Linked DNA regions of Homo sapiens: region 1 is linked to region 2. Evidence: promoter capture Hi-C in human tissues and cell types (Jung and others, 2019). All regions are on one chromosome and are shown on one strand. Each heading gives the region's core, a stretch centred on a gene start or on the middle of the fragment in contact. The rest is flanking DNA. Distances are from core to core; before and after follow the strand shown.

Evidence for each region. Contacts are between HindIII fragments. The study calls those that stand out against the background at their distance.
Region 1: a contact is called between a fragment that was not itself captured here and the fragment with the promoter of PLXND1 in region 2, in 1 of the 25 tissues and cell types used here (adrenal gland).

The regions. Positions count from the first base shown.
Region 1 is chr3:129,296,356-129,303,083 of GRCh38, forward strand. HMCES (5-hydroxymethylcytosine binding, ES cell specific) reads left to right here. Exons shown (of 7, transcript NM_020187.3): 5 at 1,999-2,180; 6 at 5,595-5,787. Among named protein-coding and RNA genes, the nearest start is that of H1-10-AS1, 17 kb to the right of the region's middle. The HindIII fragment of the contact is 3,010 bases long and covers 3,434-6,443 here.
Region 2 is chr3:129,601,282-129,608,122 of GRCh38, forward strand. It overlaps PLXND1 (plexin D1), which reads right to left and starts at 5,395. Exons shown (of 36, transcript NM_015103.3): 1 at 4,048-5,395. The coding sequence starts at 5,358. RefSeq lists enhancers at 1,654-2,646, 3,639-4,631, 5,624-6,616, 6,617-6,841 and silencers at 1,925-2,219, 5,354-5,413, 5,564-5,723. The HindIII fragment of the contact is 25,180 bases long and covers 1-6,841 here.

The sequences.
Region 1 (6,728 bases), core at 3,689-6,188, 310 kb before region 2:
TGGCCATTATTGACCTATCTTTAAGTTCACTGAGTCTTTCTTATAGTTTCTGTCTCTCTGCTAACGTTCCTTATCTGTTCATATATGTTGTCCACATTTTCCACAAGAGTCTTTGACATTAATTTTACTTACTTCAAGTTCTCTGATAATTTCAGCATCTGGGAAATATAATCTCTTGAATCTGGTTCTGTTAATTTCTATATCTCTTGGTGGTTGATTGCTTTAGCTTTTTTTGTGTGTCTTGTAATTTTTTATTGTTGCCAGAGATGATATGTAGGACAGAGACTGAGATTAATAATATTTATGTCTGGAAATTCTTCTATTAGGCCATTAATATATGGGGTTAAGTCAGTCTTGTCAGGAATTGAACTGGGTTTGGGCTTTGTTCTCATTACAGTGCCTTTGTTTTGTTTTTGTTTTTGTTTTTGAGACAGAGTCTCCCTCTGTTGCCCAGGCTGGAGTGCAGTGGTGCGATCTCGGCTCACTGCAAGCTCCGCCTCAGCCTCCCGAGTAGCTGGGACTACAGGCGCCCGTCACCAGGCCCAGCTAATTTTTTGTATTTTTAGTAGAGACGGGGTTTCACCGTGTTAGCCAGGATGGTCTCGATCTCCTGACCTCGTGATCCGCCTGCCTCGGCCTCCCAAAGTGCTGGGATGACAGGCATGAGCCACCACGACCAGGCTACAGTGCCTTTGTTTGACACAGGCTTTCAAGTGCTCTGGTGTTATCCAGTGTTTAGGGTAAGGATTGACTTTCCAGAGGGTTTCTCAGCAGCCCTCCTCTCTTCAGTTGTTGGATTTTCCTGTGAGCCTGTGCCTTAGACATGGTCTTTCTTGTGCCCTTTTCCCTCTTCCAGAAGTAGACTGCTTCTGCTTGTCACTTAATGTTTGTCGGCTAAACGGGTGGAGGCAGTTCTCCGTTCAGTCTATCTTAAGCAGATGTGGCTCTCTGACTCAGTCTTCCCCAGGGCGTAGGGGGCTTTTTCTTTTTCTCCTTCCCCAGCCTCTGTGGGTCTTTACCTGATTCCTAGGCGTGACAGGGATTATTATTATTACCGTTTCCCTGGCAGCTTAAGACTTTTGCTCCTTAGGGGAAAAGTGATTAGGTGAGGCAGAGGAGCTTGCCTTTAAGGTATTCAACAGTGAGGATGGCTTCCTCCAGGCTCCTGCCCTGTGCCGTCTTTTTCGAGCACTGGCAAAGTCCAAGGAGAAAAGCCTGTGAGCTGGTGCAAACTCCTCTGAGGTTTGCAGCTCCTAGGGATTCTGTACTATCCTGCTAGCCTGTACGCTGCTTGTAGAAATGTGATAATAACATTATCTGAATTCTTAACCTGGTTGTATGAAGGCTTGTGTCTCCCTCCTGATGCTGCCAATAAGCCAGTACTTGTGTCCCATTGCCCCTTGGAGGACCTTGTCTTTTCTTAAATTTCAGGGAAATTGATCGACTTACCTCTCTGATGAGTTTAAGAAAAGTTATAATTTTGCATATTATCCAGCTTTTTTCTTATTGTTAGAATAGAAGTGACGTTCTTTCCAGCTTTCTACATTTTAGTCCTTGAATTGAATTTTGAATGGCAATTAGGAATTGGCATGAAATTCAATTCAATTAAGAAAGGGTGGGAAGGACATTTTGGGCAGAGGAAGGTTGCTTCAGCAAGACACAGGAGCATGAAATTGCATGAGAGCTTCATTTACCAACAGCTGGTTTGGGTTCAAATTAACAATGTAAGTAATAGCTAGAATGGTGGGCCAGTTCACGGAAGGCCTAAATGTCCAGTGAAGGTGTTAAATTCTGAAAGTATTAAGGAGCCATGAATCTATAGCTTCAGTTGGCATTTGCCACCAACCTTCTTTCCTTTGGTGACAGAGGGGTTAATAAGACGTGGGCTGAATTACTTTTAAAATGATTTCCGTGCTCTCGAGTCTGAAGTAGTACCTAACCTGCATGTAGAAGAAGTCTGCTGAGTGCATCTAATCTGCCCATATATTTTGCTTCCAGTCAGGTAGCATTGGTGCTGCAGATAGTCCTGAGAACTGGGAGAAAGTCTGGGACAACTGGAGGCTGCTGACAATGGCCGGGATCTTTGACTGCTGGGAGCCCCCAGAGGGAGGAGATGTCCTGTATTCCTATACCATCATCACAGTGGATTCCTGCAAAGGCTTGAGTGACATCCACCACAGGCAAGTCATACTTCTTAGCCCTGGATCCAAAAGGATCCAAAAGATGATTTGTCCTCTGCTTTTAGGTAGCTTTAGAGAGTAGGAAACCAAGTCATTTTACAACGTAAAGTTACAATCAGTTTGACTCTAACATGACATACATTCCTAAAAATCACTGTACTATGCAAAACGATAGAATAAAAACCAAATAACTTAGGGGAAAAGTGGGGTTAAGGAGACAACACTTAAAATGTTGTCAGTGACACATTAAAAAAATAATGGAAACCTAATAAAACAGTAGCACTGTTTTATACATGTTAGGTGGTTAAGAAATAAATAAATACTACAGGCTGAGCACGGTGGCTCACGCCTGTAATCCCAGCACTTTGGGATGCTGAGGTGGGTGGATCACGAGGTCAGGAGATCGAGACCATCCTGGCTAACACGGTGAAACCCCGTCTCTACTAAAAATACAACAACTAAATTAGCCGGGCATGGTGGCGGGCTCCTGTAGTCCCAGCTACATGGGAGGCTGAGGCAAGAGAATGGTGTGACCCCGGGAGGTGGAGCTTGCAGTGAGCCAAGATCGTGCCACTGCACCCCAGCCTGGGTGACAGAGTGAGATTCCATCTCAATAAATACATACATACATACATACTACAATAAATATGGCACTTTACCTCGACAAGACCTGAAGTTTGCTTGTTGCTTGTGGAAGTGAGTGTTGGAAGAAATGCATCTCATGAGTTATTGTGAAGTTGTGGAAGGAAGGTTATGTAAAATTTTTTATCTTTTGCAGTCTTAAATCCTGGGGCACAGTTTTCCTCCTATGAACGTATTTCCTTTGAGGCATGCATTTGTAATAGATGCTATTTAATTAAAATTGAATATTTGATTCAATGTATAGCCTTCTCCTCCAATTAACTTCTGTATCACTGCTAGAAATTCTTTAGCGCATTTTCATCTGTACTTGTGGCTTCTCCCAATAGCAGAAAGCTTTGAAAATTGTCGCCATGTTCGAAACCAGTAAACTAACCACTACTAGCACTAAAAGGAGCCACTTGTGGTATTTAAGATTTTATTTATATATAGGCCTTATTTATATATTTTTTGTATGAACCTTATAGGTGCTTCTTTTTTTTTTTTTTTTTTTTTGAGACAGAGTCTCACTCTGTCGCCCAGGCTGGAGTGCAGTGGTGCGATCTCGGCTCACTGCAAGCTCTGCCTCCTGGGTTCACACCATTCTCCTGCCTCAGCCTCCCGAGTAGCTGGGACTACAGGCACACGCCGCCACGCCTGGCTAACAGGGTTTCGCCATGTTACCCAGGATGGTCTAGATCTCCTGACCTTGTGATCCACCTGCCTCGGCCTCCCAAAGTGCTGGGATTACAGGTGTGAGCCACCGCGCCTGGCTGGAGTACTTCTTGAAGTTGTTCCAGCCATGGTCATTTTTTTTTTGTAGCATCATCACTGATGTGGACTCCTTGATATCCTTTGCTCAGGAAATAATCACATGTTCTCATTTTTCTTCCAGGATCTTTTACTATTTCAAGCTTCTTTTCAATATTTAAAATGTCTCCATTCACATGCATTGCCTACCATGTTTTGAGCCAGGAAGCTTAGACATGTTTGAGATGTTAAATGTGCATCTTTATATATATATATATATATATATATAGAAAAGTTCAGAAAGGCAAAAGAAGAGCAAAACACAATTTTGTAAAATAGTATGCAGTGAGCCAAAGTAGCAGTCAGTGTTTGAGATGGGTGCATTTTGTGGCTCAGTTCATCTGGGTGCAGTTTTCTGTGTTCACCTTGTGTTTCTCACAGATGAAACTGTGCATAAGCAAACACAAAATTTGCATTGTGCTCCAATTGCTCTCTACTGTATCAGTGGCATTGGAACAGATTTGCATTTTAAACATAAGCATTGGCAGAACTGACTATACTTGTATTCTACCTTTATACTTTCTGCCAGAGCTGAGTACTCCCTGAAGTGATTTTTTGGAGTTCTCCTGAAAAGAATGCAGTGTGACACCTGTCAGGATTACCTGCTTTAGCCTTGTCCTAGGCTATATCTGTGAAAATATGCTTTCATGTGGCCAGGCGCAGTGGCTCACACCTGTAATCCCAGCACTTTGGGACGCCGAGGTGGGTGGATCACGAGTTCAGGAGATCAAGACCATCCTGGCGAACACTGTGAAACCCCATCTCTACTAAAAATACAAAAAAATGGCCAGGCGCGGTGGCTCACACCTGTAATCCCAGCACTTTGGGAGGCTGAGGCGGGTGGATCATGAGGTCAGGAGATCGAGACCATCCTGGCTAACACGGTGAAACTCTGTCTCTACTAAAAAATACAAAAAATTAGCCAGACGTGGTGGCGGCTGCCTGTAGTCCCAGCTACTTGGGAGGCTGAGGCAGGAGAATGGCGTGAACCCGGGAGGTGGAGCTTGCAATGAGCCGAGATCATGCCATTGAACTCCAGCCTGGGCAACACAGTGAGACTCCATCTCAAAAAAAAAAAATTAGCCGGGCATGGTGGTGGGTGCCTGTAGTCCCAGCTACTCAGGAGGCTGAGGCAGAAGAATGGCATGAACCCGGGGGGTGGAGCTTGCAGTGAGTGGAGATCACGCCACTGCACTCCAGCCTGGGCAACACAGCAAGACTCTGTCTCAAAAAAAAAAAAAAAGAAGAAAAAAAAAAAAATATGCTTTCATGTGATGTAGTTCTCTTTTAGTAATTAACCTTTAAAAATTATATTTCATTTAATCTAAATCACCATTCATTTAAAAATGTACCATTATTTTATACATTACAGTATTTAACATTATTTTATATGTTATGTATATATTTAGGAGACAAATGAACATTTGTCTGTATCTGAATCAACTGTACCACCCAAAAAGTGTGTGCCACACTGCATTGGCCTGGGACATAAAACTGGAAGCTAAACCTAGTATATTTTCCTTACATCCTCTGGGTACCAGGAGTCATGTTTGACAGCTTCTCTGCTTTTCTGACGCATGGCTTCCTTTTGTTCACAATTTTCTTACTGTAAGTCTTTCAGAGGTGGTGAGGCTTGAGATTGCTGTTGATAGACAAGTTTTCAAGATCTATTTTCCCTTCATTCTAGGCTGGGGTGTCATAGAAAGTTTACCAATTTACTAGAGTGGACACTGGAGTACACTAGACCAGTTAGTACTCTTCACTGTCTTTGCCATGAAACTTTATAACATGGCTCTCCAGGTGTTGAATCTGGTGCCCTGTCACCCTGTGCTCAGGGAACACATGGCAGCAATCAGCATGTGAGGCGCAGAGGGAGGGCAAGCTCCCCTTGTGATATTTGAGGTATCAGCTGACTCAAGTCTCTCTCCCTTCTCTCCTTATTCTCATGCTACCTCTCCCAACCATTGTCTTAACTTCCCTGGCCAGGATGCCTGCCATATTAGATGGAGAGGAGGCAGTTTCTAAATGGCTTGACTTTGGTGAAGTCTCAACTCAGGAAGCTCTGAAATTAATCCACCCAACAGAGAACATCACCTTCCATGCAGTCTCTTCTGTGGTGAACAACTCGCGAAACAACACTCCTGAGTGTCTGGCTCCTGTCGACTTGGTGGTCAAAAAGGTAGGGGCCTGTGACTGGTACAGTCCTTTTTGAGCTTTCTGTCTTCTGTCAGTGTTCTCTTTCTTTCAGGATGTGGCCTTTTATGATCAGCCCTTTAATTTGGACCATCAAAAGCTCTCATACTCCTTGTACACAGCAAGGTAGTGTAGAGCAGCAATTCTCAAACCTGGCTGTGACTCAGAGTCCCCAGGAGAAGAACTCTTTCAAAATGTAAATGCTAGACCCTATCTAGACATCCTGAATCAACATTTAGAGCTAGGCTTGGACTTTTGTATAATTAAGAAGCTTCAGGCTGGGCGCAGTGGCTCACGCCTGTAATCCCAGCACTTTGGGAGGCCGAGGCAAGTGGATCACGAGGTCAACAGATCGAGACCATCCTGGCCAATATGGTGAAACCCCGTCTCTACTAAAAATACAAAAATTAGCTGGGTGTGGTGGCCCGTCCCAAGTAGTGATCCCAGCTACTTGGGAGGCTGAGGCAGGAGAATCACTTGAACCTGGGAGGTGGAGGTTGCAGTGAGCCTAGATTGGGCCACTGCACTCCAGCTTGGTGACAGGGCGAGACTGCGTTTCAAAAAAAAGAAGCTTCAGCTGGGTGCAGTGGCTCATGCCTGTAATGCCAGCACTTAGAAGGCAGAGGTGGGAGGGTAGCTTTACCTGAGGAGTTCCAGACCTGCCTGGGCAATATAGTGAGACCCCGTTCTCCACAAAAAGGAAAAAAAAAAAAGCTTCTTTGATGAGTCTGATAAACCACATTTGAGGACTCCTAATCTAGACAGTGATGGTGAAAAAGACAAAGGAGCCCTTGACCATATTGTTTCTCCGTCCCCAACCATGATTTTTGGTGTCTCTTTTCTGTATCTTTGCTTTCCGAACTACAAGTTGCAGGAGCTCCAGTCCTTAGTCTCCTTCAGGAGGATTTGAGAGCATTCCTACCATGA
Region 2 (6,841 bases), core at 4,145-6,644:
TCTCTGCCTCTGGCCTCACACTTCAGCAGCTTCTCCCTTTGGGTTCTCGGGAAGAAGGTGGAGGGCAGAGGGCAAGTCCTGTCAGCTGGGAACCCGGAATGTCGGGAGGCCATCCTGACCCAGGCTCTGGAGTTGTGGGCGGCTCAAGGGATTCCTGCCAGGGCCCAGGGTTCTTCGTGAGACCCTCAAGCAGGAGCGAGAGGCTGGGTTTCCAAAGGCCTGGCTGAGCTGCCCCACTTGCAGGTCATTCGGCCCTGGGGTCCTGCCCCATGTGCAGCCCCACCCAGGCCACCCAGTGCCAGTGACAGAGAAATCCAGCCAGATGGGACCAGGAGAAAAAAGGATTCTAGGCTCCTGGTTCTCCCCAGACCAAACTCATCCTCTTCCCCAGAGGTACCCCATCACATGCCCCACCCCATGGGTACCAACATCTATCCTGTTGCTGAGCCTGACTCTGGGCAGCTTTCTGCTCCTCCATCCCATCACTCCCCACCACTGGGGCTGCATCCCAGCCCCCAAATCTGTCCAGAGCCCACCTGCCACCCTCCAAGCCCTCAGCACTGCTGCAGACCAGGCCAGCCATGTCTCCAGAGAACAAGGCCGGCCCCATCTCCCCACTGCCATCTGGCACCCACCACAGAGCCTGGCACACAGTAAGTGCTCAAGATATATTTGCGACTGAGTGAAGGAATCTATTCCCGGGAGGCGGCCTCAGCCTCTCAGCCACTCTCCCTCCTCCATTGCTCCTTCTCACCAGCTACCTAGGGGCTTTCTAAAATAATAGGTAGAAGAATTGTAGTCATTGCAAACAGGCGCCAGGTACATAAATGATCTCATTTAATACCCCCAACAGCCCTAAGAGGCAGGTATTCACGAGCATTCCCCTTCTGCAGCGGGGAGACTCAGGTGCCTGCTGAGACCACTCCACTTCTCTGGCTAAAACCCTTCATGGCTCCCAGGACCCCAGGATAAAGTCCAGACTCCCAAGGACGGTCTCCCCAGGCCTCCCTGGCCCTTGTGTCATGTGCTTCCCACTCTACTCGCCTGGCCACGCAGACCCCCTCGAGCCTGCTCACAGCCTTCGCACAGGCTGCTCCCTTTGCCTGGATGCCTTTCCTCTTCTCCGGCCTCACCTGGCTTCCTCCTGCTCCTCCGCCCCCTCCGCTGGGCTCCCTCCACCCTCATTCTCCCTTTGCGGCACGCATTGCCCTGTGTATAAGGGCCTGGTCACACATCCGTCCTCGGCTCACCTGCCCAGCCCACAAGAGTAGAAACAAAGTGAGTTGCCATTGGCTCCCCAGGGCACAGCATGGGACTGGGCTCACAATAGGGACTTAGTAAATGTCTATGGAGGTGTCATCTGGGGCTAGAAGTAGGAGATGGTGGGGTGTTTACAGCTGCAGAACAAGCCAGATTAGGCAACTGCTCTCCAGGACCAAGCAGAGACCTGTGCTAATAATGTCCCTTAGAGTAATAACAAGAAGAACTGCCATCTGCTTGGTGCTTACTGTGTACTGGGTACACTGAGCTGCATTTATCGATTCATCTAGTCCTTAAAACAATGCTTTGGGATAAGGATTGCTTTTACTGTCCCCACTTCACAGATGAAGAAACTGAGGCCCAGAGAGGTTAAGTTCCTTGGCCAAGGTCACACAGCTGGGAAGTGACAAAGTGGGACTTGAACCCAAGCAGCCTGATGCAAAGTCTAGGTTCTGAATCTGTCGCTGCATAGCTGGCAACAGCCTGGAGCAAGAATAATGATCCCTCCCCCACCCCTGCCCATGCTAGAGGCCCAGACCGGGGACCTTGAGCACCTCTGGGAGATACTGCCAAGTGGCACTGGCCTGTGCCCACAGCGGGCACGGCGAAGAGGAGAAGGGTGTGGAAAACACAGGGAGGGTGACCAAGGAAGGCCGCAGCCGGAATCTGTGGCCTTGGGGTGGGGAAGAGGCCCTTCGCCACTCTGTCCTGGGGCTGTGTCCCTGGAGAGGCCCTGTCCCCTTAGGTAGAGAAGCTCCAGCCCCCCTCAGCTGGGTGAGTCACTGCACCGAGGGAGCGGACCGTGGGAACCAGAATGGTTCTTGCCAGAGGGGGAGGGAACCCTGGGCTGGCCTAAGGAATCCCACAGATCAGCTTACACCAAAGGGCCGAGACACAGGGCCTGAAACTACTGGAGGAAGGCCCTCAGTCCACAGGACACTTCTCTCCATTCAGCGACTCCCCACTGAGACCCCCAGTGCCAAACACAGTTGCCTGCGAGATGAAGCTCTGGGGTGGAGATGGTGGATGAACCAACCATGGCACAGGGCAAGCAGCCCCACCACCCTTTGGACTGTCTGCCCTGCTCACCCACCGTGACCTTTACTTTCAGGGTGGCCGGCCAGATGGTGGGCAGTCGTGGGAGACCGACCTCGACCTTGGGAGAAGGAATCTGCATTTTCTCAAAGCCCCAGTGTTGGGCCCGCCCACAGAGGAATGGTTAATCTCATGAAATTCTTGTCACAGCCATGGAGAAGGGACAGGGTGGGGCCCCAAGGAAGGCTTGGGTCACCACAAGAAGGCTGAGTTCTGCATTTTGCTGATGGAGATGCAGCTTCCTAAGGGAATGGCAGGCAGTGGAGCTGAAGTGGGCTCGCCAGACTCAGATGGGTGGAGGGTGTGGGAAAGGCCCCAGTGTCATTCTGGGGCCTCATTCCTCAGGGTGAACTATGGGGATCAACAGACCCAGCTCCCAAAGCCAGTGTGAGGAGCAATCCCTTGCCATGAACTTCCTTTCAGGGAACCACACCAAGTCCCCTCCCGCACCCTTGTCATGTCAACACACATGCTGATTCCGTCAACCTGGCCCCCCTTGCTACTGCCCAACCCAGCCTCAGACACCTGGGCCCCATGCCTGCCTGTACTCCTCCTCATTCCCCACTGAGCCCCACGGCCCTCTCCTGCCCCCAAAACACCCCTGTTCACATCCCTCCATTCTCCTGGCCCTGGCATCTGCCCACCCCAGCTGCCTGGGACGCCCCCAAAACACACGCACTCTGAGATCCAAGTCCAGAAGGCAGCAAAGGCTGGGCATTAAAAACACAGATGCTGAGGCCAGACAGGCTGGATTCAAATCCACCTCTGCTAGTGCCCAACTGTGTGATCCTCAGCAAGTTGCTTAACCTCTCTGTGCCTGTTTCTTCATCTGTAAAATGTGATGAGAATAGAGGCTACCTGAGAGGGTTGTTCTGAGAACTGGGAATTGTGACATGTGATGCCCCTAGCTGGCACTCCACAAGTGCTATTGTTTACCCCAGACTCCCACACCTGGTACATACTAGGTGCTCAGGAAATATTTGCAGAATAGGTGAATAAAAGTTGGCCTCAGGCACACACCTGTTTGCCAACCATGCAGCCTCCTCAGAGTACCGACTCATGCCCAAATACCTGCGTCCCCTGCCACGCACATCCCACTGCACACCTAGCCCTGTCCCGTTGTACCAGTGTCTGTGCAGTACACCTGTCTGCCCTGTGCGTCTTCAGGCCCCAGCTTGCTGGCACACAAGTCCATGCAGACATCTGCAGGGCCCTGGTGCACACCTGTGTGCCTCCTTGCACACCTGCCACACCCATGCACCCATCACCAACGTGCAATGGTAACTCTGACAGGCTCACGCAGTGGCCCCAGAACACAACTTTGGTCAGGCATGCAGTCACTTACTGCGCCCTCAGCATGCACCTGTGACCCTCACGTGCATACCTGGGCTTTATGCGCACCTGGGTACCTGTGGCAACTTGGACCCCTCCCAGTACGCCTAGGTATGCGCGCCCATGAGCCGGCACTCACTTGAGTCCCTGCACATGCCCACCTGGGCCATACAGGCGCCAGTAGTACCCCTCGGGGGACACCTGTATTCTCGCGTGCACACCTGGGTTCCACGTACATCTGGATCTCTGCGCGCTCCCACCTGTGACCCACTCAGCTCACGACCCGCTCGGTTCCCGCCCGCCCCCGCCCCCGCCCCCGCCGCCGCCGCCGCCGCCGCCGCCGCCACCGCCCGGGTGTACCTGGATGTTGAGCTTGCGCTCACAGGCCGGTCCCGTGCCCTGCACCACGCTGTCGAGCACCGCCACCACGTCGGGCGCCGGTTCCACGAAGCAGGCGGTGCGCGCAGCTCGGATGGCGGCTCGCACGTCGGCGAAGCGGAAGGCGCAGAGTGCGGCCGGAGCAGCGCGGGCCGCGGGGGACCCCTGGGGCCGCTCGAAGACAGCAAAGAGCCGCTCCCGGGCTGGGAAGACCGACACCAGGCGGCTGTAGAGGTCGCCGCGGCCCGCGCCGCCCGCGCACTGCAAGCCCAACTGGATGTAGGACTCGGTGAGCTTCTTGGCGTCGCCGCCGGCGCCGTGGGGCAGGCAGATGCGCGCCAGCAGGCTCCGCGCCTGGCTCTCCTTGTCGCCCGCGCGCGCCTCGCTGTTGAGCGCCAGGTACGCGTAGGACTGTGCACCCGGCGGCGGGTCGGACGGGTGCAGGAAGGCGCTCACGAAGCCCAGCTTGTGCTGCTCCTTGGCGCCCTGCTTGATCTTGAGGATGTTGTCGTCGGAGGGGTTGAGGTCGAAGGTGAAGAGCTTGGCCAGGTCGCCGCGCGTGTCCAGGGAGCGGATGGCGATCTCGGGCGTGTTCTCGAAGCGGTGGTCCTCCAGGCTGCGGTTGCGCGGGAAGAAGGAGCTGCCGTAACCGGTGTACGTGGCGCCCACGAGCAGGCGGCTGCCCCCCGCGCCCGCGGCGGGAGGCAGAACTAGCCCCACGGTGGACGCGTTCGGGTGGTTGGCCGCCACGTTCAGCATGCTGGGGAACACCGTGACGGGCTCGGCGGGCGGCGCGGCGGGCGGGAAGCGCACGGCCACGGCCGAGATGTTGCCCCGGCGCCGCAGCTGGCAGAAGCCCTGGTAGATGGACCCGCACACGACTACCAGGCCCTGGCCGGGGTCCAGCTGCAGGATCTTGTTGTAGTTGTCCGTGAGGCGCCGCGGGTGCTCGCACGAGGCCTGCGGCAGCTGCGGAGCGTGACACAGCGGGCTGTCGGGCACCGGGCCCACGGCCGCCTCGGCCTCCAGGCTCAGGTTGGCGCCCGACAGCTGATAGAGGCGGTTGACGGCCGCCAGGTACACGGTCCCCGCCGCGCCGTCCAGGGCGAAGTTGTTGGTGGGCGTGGGCGAGGGGAACCGACGCTGGATCTCCAGGGCGCCGGCCCGCGCCGCCCCCAGGAGCAGCAGCAACAGCAGCGGCACCGGGCACCGCGGCGGCGTCTGGAACGGCGGGGGGCTGGCGGCGGCGGCCCGGGCGCTAAGGGGTGCGCCGCCCGCGGCGCGAGGAGCCATCCGGGCGTGCGCGGGCTGCGCGGCGCGGCGAGTGCATGGGGCGAGGCGCGGCCGGGAGCCGGGAGCCCGGAGGCGGCGGGAGGCGGGGGGCGGGCCCGGGCCGCGATGCGCTTCCTGCCCGCGCCAGCCGCCCCCGACCCCGGCGCCCGGGCCCGGGTCAGCCTCGCCGCGCAGCCCGGGGGCGGGGCGGGGGCGGCTCCGCTGCGGACACGCCCTCACTCCCCGCCCCGGCCCCGCCCGCCCCCGGGACCCCCGCCTGCCCCTGGCCGCCCTGGGCCACGCCCCGCCGTCCGCGGGTCCCGCCGCCCGCGCCCTCCAGGACCCGCCCGCGGCCCCAGGGTCCCTCCCCGTAGCCGCCGCCGCCGTCGCTCGCTCTCCTCGCTCTTTCCTCCCACTTGGCCGCTTGGCCTGCCTCGCTCGCGCCTGTTTTCTCTTTTCCGCCCTCTCCCCCACCCCGTCTCTCCCTCTCTCTGCGTCTCTCGGTCTCTGCGTCTCTCCGTCTCTGTCCCCACCCCAAACTCCGCGCGTGTGGCGCTTCTCCGGGTTCTGCCTCTGCTTCTCCTTCTCCCTCCGACTCCGCTTCGCTCTCCAGTCCCTGGCAGCCCCGCCCCCGGCCCTTTCTAGTCTCCTTCTCTCTCCTGCTCCGTTTTTCCGTCCCTGACGCTCGCTCCCTCTCTCCGTGGCTCCCTCTGCCTCCCCCTCGGACCCTCCGTCCCTCTCTCGGTCCCTCTGAGCTCCCCTTTCCTTCTCCCTCTGCCTTCCCGAACCCTGTGTCTCCCCTCCACACTCAGCCTCCCTCCACCACCTTTCTCAGGCACTGTCCAGGCCTTCGCTCCCCCGGTGCCGGCCAGTCGGGCCCCCCAGACCCCATAATCTGTCCCCCAAACCCCAGACCCATAAAAGGGATTTACAAGTGGCAGGGCCAGAGGGACCAGTGCTCAGGGTCAGATATATAAATGAGGAAAACATGGAGAGAGGAAATAGTTCCAGCCAGTGGCCCACAACCGATAGCCAGAGCAAGGCCTTGGTCCTGGAGCCCACAGTTGCCTCCTGTGGAGACCCAGCCGCACCCCCACCCCTGGCACCCCCGCCAGGCACTTTCCCTGACATCCTCCCAGGCTTAGTGGAAGATTAGTCCCACAAAAGCCGGCACTGGGCAGGGTTCTTGATCTCAAAAGCAGCGTTAGGGGCAGGCAGCCTGGTTCCAAGGTCACAGCCCTGTGAGGACCATGCGCCGTGGCTGTTTTGCGGGGGTGCTCACACAGGGCTAGCCCGTGCCAGACACTGTGCCAAGCACTTGCCATGTACGGGCTCTCTTTTTCCTCACAGATTCCCCCGAGGCGAGCGCTATTGGTAACCCATCTTCCAGATATGGAAACCAAGGCTGAGGGGAAGGGACTGGCCCAAGATGCACAGCTCATGAGGAGCAGAGCTACAGTGTTTGAAAGCAAAAGCCCTTCAGCTCCGACCTCTCAGAACGGGG